5 separate regions of the Homo sapiens genome follow, and all the other regions are linked to region 5. Evidence: promoter capture Hi-C in 16 types of primary human blood cells and fetal thymus (Javierre and others, 2016). All regions are on one chromosome and are shown on one strand. Each heading gives the region's core, a stretch centred on a gene start or on the middle of the fragment in contact. The rest is flanking DNA. Distances are from core to core; before and after follow the strand shown.

Evidence for each region. The method cuts DNA at HindIII sites, captures the fragments that hold promoters and counts their contacts. A CHiCAGO score of 5 or more calls a contact.
Region 1: a contact is called between a fragment that was not itself captured here and the fragment with the promoter of SFTPB in region 5, in 1 of 17 cell types (monocytes). The highest score is 6.6, in monocytes.
Region 2: a contact is called between a fragment that was not itself captured here and the fragment with the promoter of SFTPB in region 5, in 3 of 17 cell types (neutrophils, M0 macrophages and fetal thymus). The highest score is 6.9, in neutrophils.
Region 3: a fragment that was not itself captured here is called in contact with the fragment with the promoter of SFTPB in region 5 in 2 of 17 cell types (fetal thymus and M1 macrophages); the score reaches 6.2 in fetal thymus.
Region 4: a contact is called between a fragment that was not itself captured here and the fragment with the promoter of SFTPB in region 5, in 1 of 17 cell types (neutrophils). The highest score is 6.3, in neutrophils.

The regions. Positions count from the first base shown.
Region 1 is chr2:86,062,654-86,065,353 of GRCh38, forward strand. POLR1A (RNA polymerase I subunit A) reads right to left here. Exons shown (of 34, transcript NM_015425.6): 14 at 2,621-2,700. Among named protein-coding and RNA genes, the nearest start is that of POLR1A, 42 kb to the right of the region's middle. The HindIII fragment of the contact is 7,905 bases long and covers 1-2,700 here.
Region 2 is chr2:86,086,351-86,089,050 of GRCh38, forward strand. POLR1A (RNA polymerase I subunit A) reads right to left here. Exons shown (of 34, transcript NM_015425.6): 5 at 2,435-2,520; 6 at 2,216-2,319. Among named protein-coding and RNA genes, the nearest start is that of POLR1A, 18 kb to the right of the region's middle. The HindIII fragment of the contact is 6,532 bases long and covers 1-2,700 here.
Region 3 is chr2:86,131,769-86,134,468 of GRCh38, forward strand. It overlaps PTCD3 (pentatricopeptide repeat domain 3), which reads left to right. Exons shown (of 24, transcript NM_017952.6): 17 at 550-656; 18 at 1,410-1,488; 19 at 1,578-1,668; 20 at 2,524-2,609. Among named protein-coding and RNA genes, the nearest start is that of SNORD94, 2.8 kb to the right of the region's middle. The HindIII fragment of the contact is 3,229 bases long and covers 1-2,700 here.
Region 4 is chr2:86,045,766-86,048,465 of GRCh38, forward strand. POLR1A (RNA polymerase I subunit A) reads right to left here. Exons shown (of 34, transcript NM_015425.6): 19 at 1,400-1,498; 20 at 1-4. Among named protein-coding and RNA genes, the nearest start is that of POLR1A, 59 kb to the right of the region's middle. RefSeq lists an enhancer at 1-665. The HindIII fragment of the contact is 4,266 bases long and covers 1-2,700 here.
Region 5 is chr2:85,666,922-85,669,621 of GRCh38, forward strand. SFTPB (surfactant protein B) reads right to left here and starts at 1,278. Exons shown (of 11, transcript NM_000542.5): 1 at 1,196-1,278; 2 at 758-885; 3 at 185-256. The coding sequence starts at 1,262. The HindIII fragment of the contact is 15,484 bases long and covers 1-2,700 here.

The DNA.
Region 1 (2,700 bases), core at 69-2,568, 400 kb after region 5:
AAAAAAAAGAGCAAATTAAACCAAAGTAAACAGAAGAAAGGGAGTGATAAAGTTCAAATCAACGAAACAGAAAACAGAAAAATAAAGTCAATAAAACCAAAGACTTTTTTTTGAGAATAAAACTGATAAACCTCTAGGCAAACTGATCAGGAAAAAAGAGAAGACACAAATTATCAATGTCAGGAATGAGAGAAGTGACACCACTACAGGCAATACAGATAGAAAAGGTCAACAAAGGAGCATTATGAACAACTTTGTGCCTATAAATTCAGTAACTTAGATGAAATGGACAAATTCCCTGAAAAACACAAACAATTAAAGCTCATTCAAGAAGTAGATAACCAAAAATAGCTCTATGTCTACTAAAGAAATAGAAATTTTAATTGAAAATCTTCCCACAGGTTGGGCGCGGTGGCTCAGGCCTGTAGTCCCAGCACTTTGGGAGGCCAAGGTTGGTGGATCACCTGAGGTTGGGAGTTCGAGCCCAGCCTGACCAACATGGAGAAACCCCATCTCTACTAAAAATACAAAATTAGCCGGGCATGGTGGCGCATGCTTGTAATCCCAGCTACTTGGGAGGCTGAGGCAGGAGAATTGCTTGAATCTGGGAGGTGGAGGTTGCGGTGAGCCAGGATCACACCATTGCATTCCAGCCTGGGCAGCAAGAGCAAAACTCCATCTCAAAAAAAAAAAAAAAAAAAAAAAAAAAGAAAGAAAACCTTGCCACAAAGAAACTCTAGGCCCAGATGCCTTCACTGGTGAATTCTACAACACATTTAAGGAATAAATAATATGAATACTGTACTACACAAACTCTTACAGAAAACCAGAGGAAATACCTCCTAACACCTCATTCTGTGAGGCCAGGATTACCCTGATACCAAAACCAAACAAACATATTATAAGAAAATAAAACTACAGACCAATATCTATCACAAACACAGAAGTAAAAAAATTCTAGACAAAATATTAGCAAATTGAATTCAATAATATATAAAAAGGATAATACCTCACGACCAAGGAAGGTTTATCCAGGAATGCAAGGTTGGCTTAAAAAGGAAAATCAAGTTCCAGGTCCACAGACTAAGAACTGGAGAGCAGGAAGAGACCTTAGAGATCATGAACTTGAAGCTGAAGTCATTGATTTGGGACCCTTTTTCTTCTTTTCAACCTAGGCATTTTATGTATAAATTTCCCCCTTAAGTTCTGCTTCAGTGGCATCCCACAAATTTTGTTGTGTTTTCATTTCATCTACTTCAGAATGCTTTCTAATTTCCCTTTAGATTCTTTTGACCCATGAGCTATTTAAGAAGTACGTTATTTAGAAGTACAAATATTGAGGGCTTTTCCAAATATCTTGGTTGCTGATTTCCAAATTCCATTATGCCCAGAGGCCACATCTTGAATCCTTTTAAAATCCTCTGTACCAAATAAAATTAGGAAATAGGTCCAGGTTTTGCTTCTGTCACGGGTGAGATTTTTTAGTGTGTCTCTAAAGGTTGGTACGGGCTTTTTTTTTGCCAACAGGTGAAAAGGGCAAGAGTGACTACACTATGCAAGAATTTGTTTGTGGGTTAGTCTGGTTTCAAAGAGAAAAACCATGTTTAGAATCAGAACTTAGCTTAGCAAGTTAATTTCTACTGTCCCAGGAAATGATGAGGAACTGAGACACACAGGGCTAAGATCACATAGCCAATTAGAAGTTGATCCTTAAGGCTGAACTTGGATACTCAGGCAACAGCAGAAGAACATATTTTACTGTTTTTCATTATTTGGTCGCCACATATCATGTAATTTGGTTACTTTGAGAGGAAGTATGGTATGATGCTTCTGGGGTTGAAAAGTCCTGGGTTTGATCTGTCTCCTGTAGTCTTGGGCATGTAATTTATCATCTCCTAAATGGAGATAATAATGGTGTCTGCATTGCAGATTAGTCGTGAGTATTAAATCAGATAATGTGTCTAAAGCACTCAGCAAACATATGGAACTTCCCAACAAATATTACTATTACTCCACCAGCACCACTGCCTATTACCACCATATTTGTATTATGAGGACACCAAATTTAAGTTAGAAGCAAAGGACAGAAACTATGCAGTCTACTTTTTTTTTTTTTGTGGAGACGGAGTCTCACTCTGTTGCCCAGGCAGGAGTGCAGTGGCTGATCCTGACTCACTACAACCTCCACCTCCTGGGTTCAAGCGATTCTCTTGCCTCAGGCTGAGGCGATTCTCTTGCCTCAGCCTCCCGGTAGCTGAGATTACAGGCACTAATCCCACGCCCAGCTAATTTTGTACTTTTAGTAGAGATAGGGTTTCACCATGTTAGCCAGGCTGGTCTCAAACTCCAGACCTCAGGTGATCTGCCCGCCTCAGTCTCCTAAAGTGTTGGGATTACAGGTGTGAGCCACTGCACCAGGCTACTATGCAGTCTACTCTTGCTAGACACTCCCTTGAAGCCACCCAGACTCAGGAACCCCAAACAAAGGGGAAAGAAAGTCAGACTATTGCTGGCTTAGCCATTTCTCTGTCTCTGGTCTGGACTCTTCTGAGAATAAAACCTTTTACATGAGTGGCCTATTTCCTTTTGTTACATACACTGGCTGTTCTCTCCCAATTACCTGTTTTCCTGTCCACAGCGGAAAGGGCTTCAGGATGGAAGGAGAAAGGAGCTTCACGCGCCCCACTTTGTCCGTGAGTC
Region 2 (2,700 bases), core at 125-2,624, 420 kb after region 5:
GCTCGGATTACAGGCGTGAGCCACCACTCCCAGCCTAGCCCTCACTTTTTGATTCCCTCTGATACCAGGAACATGGTCAGACCCACGCTGAGGCTGCTCACTTTCCTCCACATCACCTGCTCCCCAGGGTTACTGATCTGTGTCACTTGCAGCCCCTTCAGAGAGCAGAGACCACATGGTCTGGTCTGTGTCCTGGCATTGTGCTCATCACAAACATGGTCCTTGGCATAATGCTGAGCACCCAACAAATAAATGTGTGCTAAATACTGAATACCCAAGCCTGGAGCTGTAGAAGACTATGGTCTACTTGTTTCTAATGCACAGACTTTTGGTTGCACCATCATATTTGCGTGGCTGCAATGAAAGATGACTTTAGAAGAATGGGTTTGGTGAAGGCATTGAAAGGCTACTTACCTGCCGGACATTTGCCCCACGAAAACTATCTTCTAGAAAGAATTCTGACCATCTTTGTTCTCAATCTATGAACATTTTATAAGGCATCCTAAGGGCTACAGAAGCAATTCCCAACTGGTAATACAAGAAAATTGTTTTGAGGGCAATTTAATGGTTAAGTGTAGGAAAATCCACTCTTACAGTGTTAACTACCAACCATGAAACAAAATTAAAAAGGCTTTCTAAATGCAGTGTGGTATCCTGGGTTGGATCCTGGAGCATAAAAAGGAAATTACTGGAAAACCAGCAAAATTTAAAAAGTCTGTAGTTTAGATAATAGTGTTGCACCAATGTTAAACTCAGTTTTGACAAATGCACCATGGTAATCTACTATGTTATACAGTAGGGCAAATGAAGTAAACAGTATTAAGGAATTCTCTGTACTATGTTTACTACTCTTCTATTAAGTCTAAAAATTATCCTAAACTATAACATTTTAAAAAAATATTAAACAGGTTTTTCATTTAGTCCAGGCCATGCCAGAGTGTTCAATGTAAAACATACATCATGCATCTCCAGGAGGGGATCTTATTTCCATGCTTATCCCATATTCTCAAACCCTGGTGAAAGGTTTAGTAACAGTATCTGCTATGGACTGCCATGCATGTAACTTCCTCAATTCTAGGCAAGAGGCTTTAGGAATGCCATTATATAGAGTTAGAAATGGAAACGCCTCAAAACAGCCTTCTATCTGCCACTCAGAAAAAGTGGCAGAGCCAAGTGACAATTGCAGGTTGTGCTTTTTCTTTCTTTTTCTGAGACGGAGTCTTGCTCTGTCACCCAGACTGGAGTGCGGTGGCACGATCTCAGCTCACTGCAGAGTGCGCCTCCTGGGTTCAAGCGATTCTCCTGCCCTAGCCTCCTGAGTAGCTGAGATTACAGGTGCCCGCCACCACGCCTGGCTAATTTTTGTGTTTTTAGCAGAGATGGGGTTTCACCACGTTGGCCAGGCCGGTCTTGAACTCCAGACCTCAAGTGATCTGCCTGCCTCAGCCTCCCAAAGTACTGGGATTACAGGTGTGAGCTACCGTGCCCAGCCAGGTTATGCATTTTCTACCCTGGAACACTGATGACATAATAAGAAATGAACAGTTAACATTTACATAGCACATATTACACAGCAGGTACCGCTCTCAGTGCTTCTCTTGGAATACTCTATTTAATCTTCTGACCACTTCAGAATAAAAACCAAAAAACATTTTTAAATAAGCCTATGACTATAAAAATTAAAAAGTGGGAGTATTAAGTTATCTCAAAATTTTTCCCAAGCAGAGCTTGGGTAGGGCAGAGCTGAGGAAAGAATTCTACCTGGGGGGATCTGGGTGGACAGCCAGGAGTAGCCTGCAGGAGGCGCTCATGTTTTGCTGAATTCTTGCAGTTTTTCTTAAAAATTATTCGCCTACATTTTATTCCAAAATAGATCCACACTTGTTTTACAGTAAAATGTTTCAAAATATTTGTCAGGTAAATTTCTTAATTTCTTCCTGAAAAACCTTTCAGAAAAACGACCACCTAAGGCAAGAGGCGCCTGTGGGGCACTGCCTCATAAAACAGCCCCTCCCATCAGCTCTCCCATGTGAGAGGCCTGAGCTGGGCGCTTGCCAGGGTCCCCTCAGGCCTGAGAGGCCTGCACACTGTGCCTCTGCTGGCCCCTCCCAAATGCAGCAGAGAAACACGTGGTGAGGAGAACCAGGTATTCCCAGGGTTTAGGACACATCTGCTGGCCTCACATGGAGCTCCTCTCCAGACCCAGCCTGCTCACCCAGGGGCTCAGAGTCCTTCTGGCCAGCTGTCCTGTGCACCATGGCTGGAAACGTGATAGTCAACTTGCTGTTGTGTTCCTTTCGGACAACGGATCGCCCGGTCCTGTGCAGGAGGACAGTTGTGATTGAAGAGAGAAAAAACCCAGTAAGATATTTAATAATAGCAATGAGTGACTGCCCAGAGACGTCTCACCTGGCGCAAGGGCCCTGATACTTACTTGCAGTGGGGACAGCGCTTAGCATTCATATGTGCCTTCCAGAAGAGAGCAATGAGCTTGCTCTTGCTCTCACACACGTTCTTTACCTGTTTTTTTAAAAAAAGTCAGAGAACCTTGGAGTGCCATTTTGAAGAGAATCCAATATATTTACTTTATGGTTTTCACCTTTTATTTTTAACCAGCGGAAACACCCCCACCACCACTTTCTTAAACAAAATCTTCCATAGAACCCTAATACACTTGAGCTCTGACAATTACTGAGTGAC
Region 3 (2,700 bases), core at 196-2,695, 470 kb after region 5:
AATTGTGGCCTTTGCCATTACTTTCCATGGCAAAAACCGCAATTACAAAAGCCGCTACTTTCAATAGCAAAAACCACAATTACTTTTGCACCAACCTAGTATTTAGTATGGATCCTCACAAGGTTTTTACTCTGGGTACTCAAGCGTATGTATATCCAGGCATACTTTCAGGGTGTTTTATTTGTTGGCAGCAACCAGTATTTCATAGTAAGAACCATAACTTAACTTTCCTGTGGGTAGATTTTGGAGTTATTTCATGGAGATTTTTACTAGTCCAGACTCTGCAGTGCAGGTGTCTTTTGTGCACTTGACCAGGTGTTGTTACAGGATTAATTTTTAATGGTATAATTGCTTAATTAAAATAATATTGTAATAAATTTCACAGAACTTGGGATTTGTCTCCCCCCCATTTCTTATAACTTACTTGCTGTCAACCAATAATATGTTGAATCAACATTATTTTCACAAGACACTCTACTGTTGTTATTTATTTGTGAACCACTGGCTGACAGGGTATCAGAGTGATACTTACTACTTGCATATTTTCAGTGCTCATCTCTCAGAGATCTAGAACTTGCCTACCAAGTACATGGCCTTTTAAAAACCGGAGACAACTGGAAATTCATTGGACCTGATCAACATCGTAATTTCTATTAGTAAGTGTGTTGGAAACATATCCTTTTGCATGAGTTACCAGATTCTGCAAGTGGGAGGCTGTTGATGTCCCTTCATACCTCACCTCTGGTTTCAGGCAACATGCCAATGATCTAATAGGACATGTTAATTGAGCACTTAGGAATTAAAGCAGTGGTAAAACTGCCAGATTTGAAAGACTAGTTTGTGTCCTTTAAGGGTTTTTTTTTTTTTTTTTTTGCAACACTGTAAAATCCACATATCTTTTTCCTCTACCCCCTCTCATTTTACATTTTCAAATTGTTATAGCAGGGTGAGCCCTGAAGATTTCCTTTCACCTCCCTTGCTTTTGTATTCAAAGATGAAGATACTGGAACCTAGAGATACTCCCTAAATGGGTTTGCTTTTAGGCAGATAAGAACATGAATTTAAGAAGGCAGCATGTTAACAGATGTGTGAGAATTGTTTTCTGTGTATCCAAATCCTTGTTTCACATTGAATGTTTTTAAAATGAATTTGAAATTCAGTATCTATTCACCATGACCTAAGAGTATACAGAGGAAACAGTTAGAAATGACCAGTTGAGGGTAGGGTGTTTAATTGAGAAGTCAGCACACACTGGCAGCTCTTAAACCAAATATTGGCTCGTTTAACTTGAAACTGTAAGTATTTTGAAATTCTTTGTAACATATAATATGCTATAATTTCAACCCTTATTTCCCCTGTTGTTAGACATAGGGACTTTAGACTAAACATACTTTTTGCCTTCATCACAGTTCCAAGTTCTTCGATTTGATTTGTCTAATGGAACAAATTGATGTTACCTTGAAGTGGTATGAGGACCTGATACCTTCAGTAAGATGGTTCATTACTTGTTATTTATCATTCTAGATGAATTGGGTTTCTGCAGATTAATGCTTTAAAAATGTGTTTCTCTTAATCAGGCCTACTTTCCCCACTCCCAAACAATGATACATCTTCTCCAAGCATTGGATGTGGCCAATCGGCTAGAAGTGATTCCTAAAATTTGGAAAGGTCAGTTTTACTTTTTATGTGTCCAGGTGCATCTCACCTCAATATCCTCTACTTTGATAATGAATGTGCTAACATTACTGTTAGGGATGAAAACTTCCATTTTGACTGAACCAAATGTGTTAGTTGAGATGTACTTCAAGGTCATGTGCTCATGTTGCATGTTGGCTATCAGGAGAAAATTTTGTTGAAAATGACTTAAGTCAGTCCCTTCGTGACATAGGAATGAGCTGAGTTTTGTGCACCTGTTGCGGGATATGACCCAAAGAAAATAAATGCTAATGGCGTGGCAGACCCTAAATCTGAATAAAGGTCTTTGACCCGGAAGCCTGTGTAATTCCTCTGTGCCAGTGTTGCCTCACTTCACTAACCACAGTCAGTGATGATTCTGTTTCCAAGTAATAGCCATGAGCATCACGCATCACGGGTGTGTGTGTCTTATGTGTATAACTTGGCTGCAAAATGAAATAGATATTCTGTATCTTTCACTAGGTGACTACTGTATCATAAAGTCAGTAGGCTCTAGTCCCGCCCTCCTGCTTCACACGACTGCTCTAATGAGTGATAAAAGTATATCAAATTCCCAAGTGCTATAAAACAACGTCTTAACCACGTGGAGCTGGTGGCTGCTCCCATGTAGTGCACATGCCGTGATGAACACGTCACTGGAGCAAGGCCCAGGCATTGGCTTTTACATTTGTTCCACTGTGAATCCTGGTGGGTTTCTGGAATCCTGGGATAAGCCTAGAATAAATAACAGCAACTTATTTTTACCTACCAAAAAATAGGTTGACAGTGAACAAAAGTGTGTTGGTTTTACATAACAATGATCACTCCTTGTTCCTTTCTTGTTTCAAGATAGTAAAGAATATGGTCATACTTTCCGCAGTGACCTGAGAGAAGAGATCCTGATGCTCATGGCAAGGGACAAGCACCCACCAGAGGTAGGCCTGAAACTCACCAGCCAGTATATCCTCCCATACTGAGGTCTTCTTAAGGCTAGCTTCCCTGGTTTTATCTGCCATTTTGGAGAGT
Region 4 (2,700 bases), core at 114-2,613, 380 kb after region 5:
AGATCTGGAGGACAGGAAATCCACAGGAAACTGAAGATCCACATGTGTGTTTAACAGTGCTTTGTCCCAGCAGGGAAAGTATAATCTGACCTTGAAGAAAAGCTGCATGGAAACCGAGTTCTTGAAGGCTAACCTACATTTCTAAACAAACCAGGAAGCCTTCATTTTAAGAAAAAAAAAATACCTTCCTTTGGTTGACTGATCTGGATTTTCACATTTGGGGTCAGTTGAAAATGGGTGCTCTCTATAAAAAGAGCCATGTCTCAGAACCATCTCATGTTATACCTGTAAAGGACTGGAGGGTCCTGATGGGGAAAGAGAGGCCTGCAGGAAACAGCCATTTATTGCGATCCTCACATTCTAGAGCCAAAAGGGAACTCAGGGCCGGGTGTGGTGGCTCACATCTACAATCTTAGCACTTTGCGGGGCTGAGGCAGGAGGATCCCTTGAGCCCAGAAGTTTGAGACCACCCTGGGCAATACAGGGAGACTCTGTCTTATTTTCAATTAAAAACAAAACAAAACAAAACACAACAACAACAACAACAAAATGGGAACTCAAGCTATTGAGCTATTTGCTTAGAAAGCTGCCTGTTAATACTCTTGGCGTGTTGGAGGAGAGCAGTATATCTAGGTTTCGATGTAGTCAGGGGATTTCCTAACGGCTTTCGGCCTTTCTGTTGTCACACTCAACAGACAATGGGGTGGGCCTTTAGACCCTCTCAAGGTCACCAAGGTTTAAGGTTAAGAAATCTCTAGGACAATGTTTATGTTTATAATTTAATATTATGAAAAGATCGGCCAGGTGCGGTGGCTCATGCCTGTAATCCCAGCACTTTGGGAGGTCGAGGTGGGCAGATCACGAGGTCAAGAGATTGAAAGCATCCTGGCCAACATGGTGAAACCCCGTCTCTACTAAAAATACAAAAATTAGCCAGGCATGGTGGCGCATGCCTGTAATCCCGAGAGGCAGGAGAATCTCTGGAACCTGGGAGGCAGAGGTTGCAGTGAGCCAAGATTGCGCCACTGCACTCCAGCCCGGTGACAGAGCAAGACTTCATCTCGAAAAAAAACGAAAGAAAGAAAGAAACAATCATGCAAAATTACGTAAAAATTGTGTGAGTATACATAATTTATCTATATAACGTGAATATATGTAATAGTACAGTTTGTAAATTTGTAATATATATCTACGTTATACATATCCCATCTGCATATTCATAACTACATCTGCCTTTAACATTGGCATGTTAACAGTGGTTAGCTCCTGTAGTGATTTCTACACGCTTTCCTCTTTTTACTTGTCATGTTTTATAGGGAACAAACTGAAACCACCTCCTGCTATCCCCCACCTGCCTTTGCTGACACCTGTAAAGCTGCCAACCCGCCTCTGCACATACCTGCATCGTGTTCACAGTTGAACCTTTGGCTCCCGACTGCACCATCATCTGCAGGCTGTTCTCTGGGAACTGTCTGTGTAGGCCAAAAGGCATGCATGCCTGCAGATTAAATCAGCACAGTGGTCAGTGACTTCACCTTCTTTAAAAATCCCAGAATCAGGATGTAAATCCAGGAAGCAGAAGCAATACAGCCAGAATATTTATTCAGACCTAAGTACCAAATCCCACTCGAGGTAAGAGAAAGCCTCATTCAGCATTAATCCTTCCCTGGAACCCCTGAGAGGTCAAACAGGTGCTCCCTGCCCTGCACTCGCTGGACTTCCTCTGCCAGGATCCCCGAGGTTTCATTCATTGGCCAAAGAGCAGCAAAAAGGGAGAAGGAAAAGGAGAAGTAGAGGGGCTGGCAGATCCAGTTCGTGATTCTAAAAAGAAGCTGGAGAAGAATAAAATTTAAGGTGATGCCCTTGATTCGCCCAGCAGAGCCTGGCCTGGGTCCTCTCCCAGCGTGAATACCAACATCCGCATCATGTCACATTTACGAACATGCCACCCAAGCCCCATGTAGGAAGCTCTGTCTTGGCTCAAGAGCCAGCAGAACCAAGCATGCCCCTTCAGGGGGATCCTGGGGAGATGCTGAGAAGGGGGCTCTGAGTCTGGGGCTTCTAGCCTGTGCCTGGAATTCCACAGACTTGGCCCAACACAGGAGAGGCAGAGCCTGGGTGGGCGGAGGTGGTGGGAAGAGGGCAACTGGAGGGACAAGAAACCATTCTGAGATGCATCTGAAGACAACTTCCCTACTCCTAGCATCCCCAGTCAGCCCTAGAAGCTGAGCTTCCTGGTTCTCAGGGAGGTGCTAGGAAAGCTCCTGTCAACAAAACCCCTCAAGGATGGAACCTGTCCCCATGAGAAGTCGGTCTTCTCAGCAGCCTAAGGGATGCTAAAAGCCAGGCAAGAGAGCACTACAGACGAACTTTGACTTTTGATGAGTGTTGGCATTGCCTCCTCCTCCCCACTCCTCAGGCTGGGCCCCAGGGCCCAGGAGGCAGGGTGAGGGCCAGGCCAGCTCCTCCAAGCAGCAGGATGGAGAACCCTGGCTCTGGGGCAGAAAGGCAGAGAAAAGCAGGCTGTGGTTTCAGCTCATGCAGAGATTTCCCCTCTCCTTTCTCAACTGCCCAGGAACTGGCTTGGCATTGTGTACTAGTAGCTCCTGAAGCCTCTCTGCAGCCCTGTGAGGTGGTGCCCCTCACAGCCCCACTTCCAGGTGAGGAAACCAAGGCAGGGACTGGTTATCTCACTTGCCC
Region 5 (2,700 bases), core at 28-2,527:
ATCTCTGGCTGTGCTATTGAGCTCAGGGCCATGACCTGCTCCCAGCCAGGAGGAGCTGGGACTTCCCAGGCACCCAGGCCTCCTCCTCAGCCTGGAAATGGCCCCTTTAGGGGGCTCAGCTCTTCCCTGCTCTGTCCCTCATCTCTTGGGCCCCAACCTTCATCCAGGATCTGGGCATCATTACCTGGAAAATGGCCTCCTTGGCCATCTTGTTAAGGATGTGGACGATGTCCTCACACTCTTGGCATAGGTCATCCTGGGGAGGGAGGGGCCCCAAGGTGGAGGACACATGAGTGGGGGAGGCTCCCAGCTCCAATGGGGAGGTTCTCTTAGGAAGAGGCCAACAGAGCACTCCAAGGCACATGCAGCTGCCCACCAGCCCAACTTGTCCCATCTCATCCATATCAATTTATCCCATCCATCTCTTCTATTCATCCATCCCAATCCATCCATCTTTATTCTGTGTCATCCCATCCCATCCCATCCCATCCCATCCATCTTTATTCTATGTCATCCTATCCTATCCCTTCCCCTCCCATCCATCCCATCCCATCCCATTCATCCGACTCCATCTATTCTATGTCATCGTATCCCATCGCATCCATCCCATTCCATTTTATCCTATCTCATTTCATCTCATCCCATTTCATCTCATCCATCCCCTATGGGGGCTCCACTCTCCTCCTGCCCATCCAGAGCCCACCCAGCACCCTTCATTTCAGACCCCCAGTTGCCATGCATCCTTGGTGGTACTCACGGCTCCCACATGTCCCCAGACTTCCTGTAGGCAATGCCCTAGGGCTCTGCACTGCAATGCTTGCTCCAGGCTTTGGCACCAGAACTCAGGGCCCTGGGCACAGGCCAAGGATGAGGTGGTCCAGGCAGCTGTGGTTTGGGGCCAGAGCAACCTTAATCAGGATCCAGGCTACACACCTGGCATCATGATTTCACCCACCCTCTAGACCCAGTTTTGCTGGGAGTGTGAGGCCATTAAACATGTGGACGTCAGACAGCTCTGGGTTCCACCTGCTCCTGGACCCGCCAGCTGTGTGACCTTGGATAAGCTCTGAACCCTCTCTGAACCCCAGCTGCCTTGTCTTTAAAATGAGGACAGACTTGGGTTAATGCCTAGCACAAAGCAGTGCTCAGTGAGTGGTGGAGCTGCCTAGGAGAGGGGAGGCTGGGGGAGACTCACCAGTGCCTGGGCCACAGAGCGTGGGCAGCAGCAGCAGCAGCCACTGCAGCAGGTGTGACTCAGCCATGGCACCTCTGCAGCCTGGGTACCCTGCTTGGTGCATGGCCCCTTATAGCTGGGCGGGGCGTGGGGGCTCTGTAGGAGTGGCAGCGACCTCAGTGTTTGTCTTTGCTCTGAAGAGCCCTCCAGGTGCTTGATCCCACCTTTTCCCAGCAGGAACACTCCTGCCTGCCTTACCACCTGTCCTGGCTGATGGCCTGTTCCTGCCTCCTTTGCCCCCTGCCCAGACTCCCATGTTCCTGGACTTGTGGCTTCCTCCAACCAGGGGCTCTCAAGCCTCCATACCTGGTCCCACCTCTCCAGGCCGTGGGAGGGAGGTTGAGGAGGGTGGAGGGCATCTGGTTGGGGGCAGCCTGGGTGTTCCCCTCCCATCCCCTCCCTGGGCCTCCCAGGCCCCCTCTACTCTTGAGCAATGCTCTTGAGAGCTTCCTGCCTGGCTCTTAACCCAGGGCAAGCCCTGGAAGGGCAGACCCAGGACACTCTCACCACCTCCTTACCTTTTCCCCTGGAAAAATCTTCTGGTTCTATGGACACATGGTTTGCATTAGTCAGAAGAGCATTTACACAAAACAGAAAACAAAATACCCTGAGTCAGAGACAAGATTTCTGTGGCCCTGGAGTGGCTCCCAGACAGCCCTATACAGGAGGTGCTGCCCATGGCCCCTGGGGACCCCTCCAGGGTAGGGGCTGGGGCATAGCTGCGATGGTTCAGCAGAAAGAAACTGTCCTCTGCAGCTGCAGGGGCTCTCAGGCAGGGCCCCCACTGGCAGAGCACACTGGAGAAAAAGCTCACAGGCTGAGGGAGACAGAGGATATCTTGAGTGGAAGAAAGAGAGCATTAGCACATTGCCACCACCCCAGCCATTGTGATCAATTTATCTGATCTCTGCAGGAGCCCTCTCCCTAGTGGAGGCTCACAGGCCTCTATACTCGGGAAGCACTACAGTGCTTTTGTGGGTGGACGGGCAGGAATTAGTACCATGATGAAAAGAGATGGGGCTGGGTGTGGTGGCTCACTCCTGTAATCCTGGCACTTTGGGAGGCCGAGGAGGGAGGATCCTTTGAGCCCTGGAGTTTGAGACCAGCCTGGCCAATATAGTAAGACTCCATAACTACAAAAAAATTAAAAAATTAACCTTGTGTGGTGGTGCATGTCTCTGGTCCCAGCTACTCAGAAAGCTGGGGCAGGAGGATCGCTTGAGCCCACCAGGTCGCGGCTGCAGTGAGCCATGATTGCACCGCTGCACTCTGGAATGGGAGTGTGAGGCCATTAAACATGTGGCCATTAAACATGTGACTGAGCTGAGGGTGTCCTGGCTCCTGGTCCCTGGGATGGGCAGTCTCCTGACACCATGTTGGCCAGGTAACACTCTGTCTCAAAAAAAAAAAAAAAAAAAGAATTAGATACAAGGTGGCTAATGCCACACTCAAGGTTACCCAAGGAT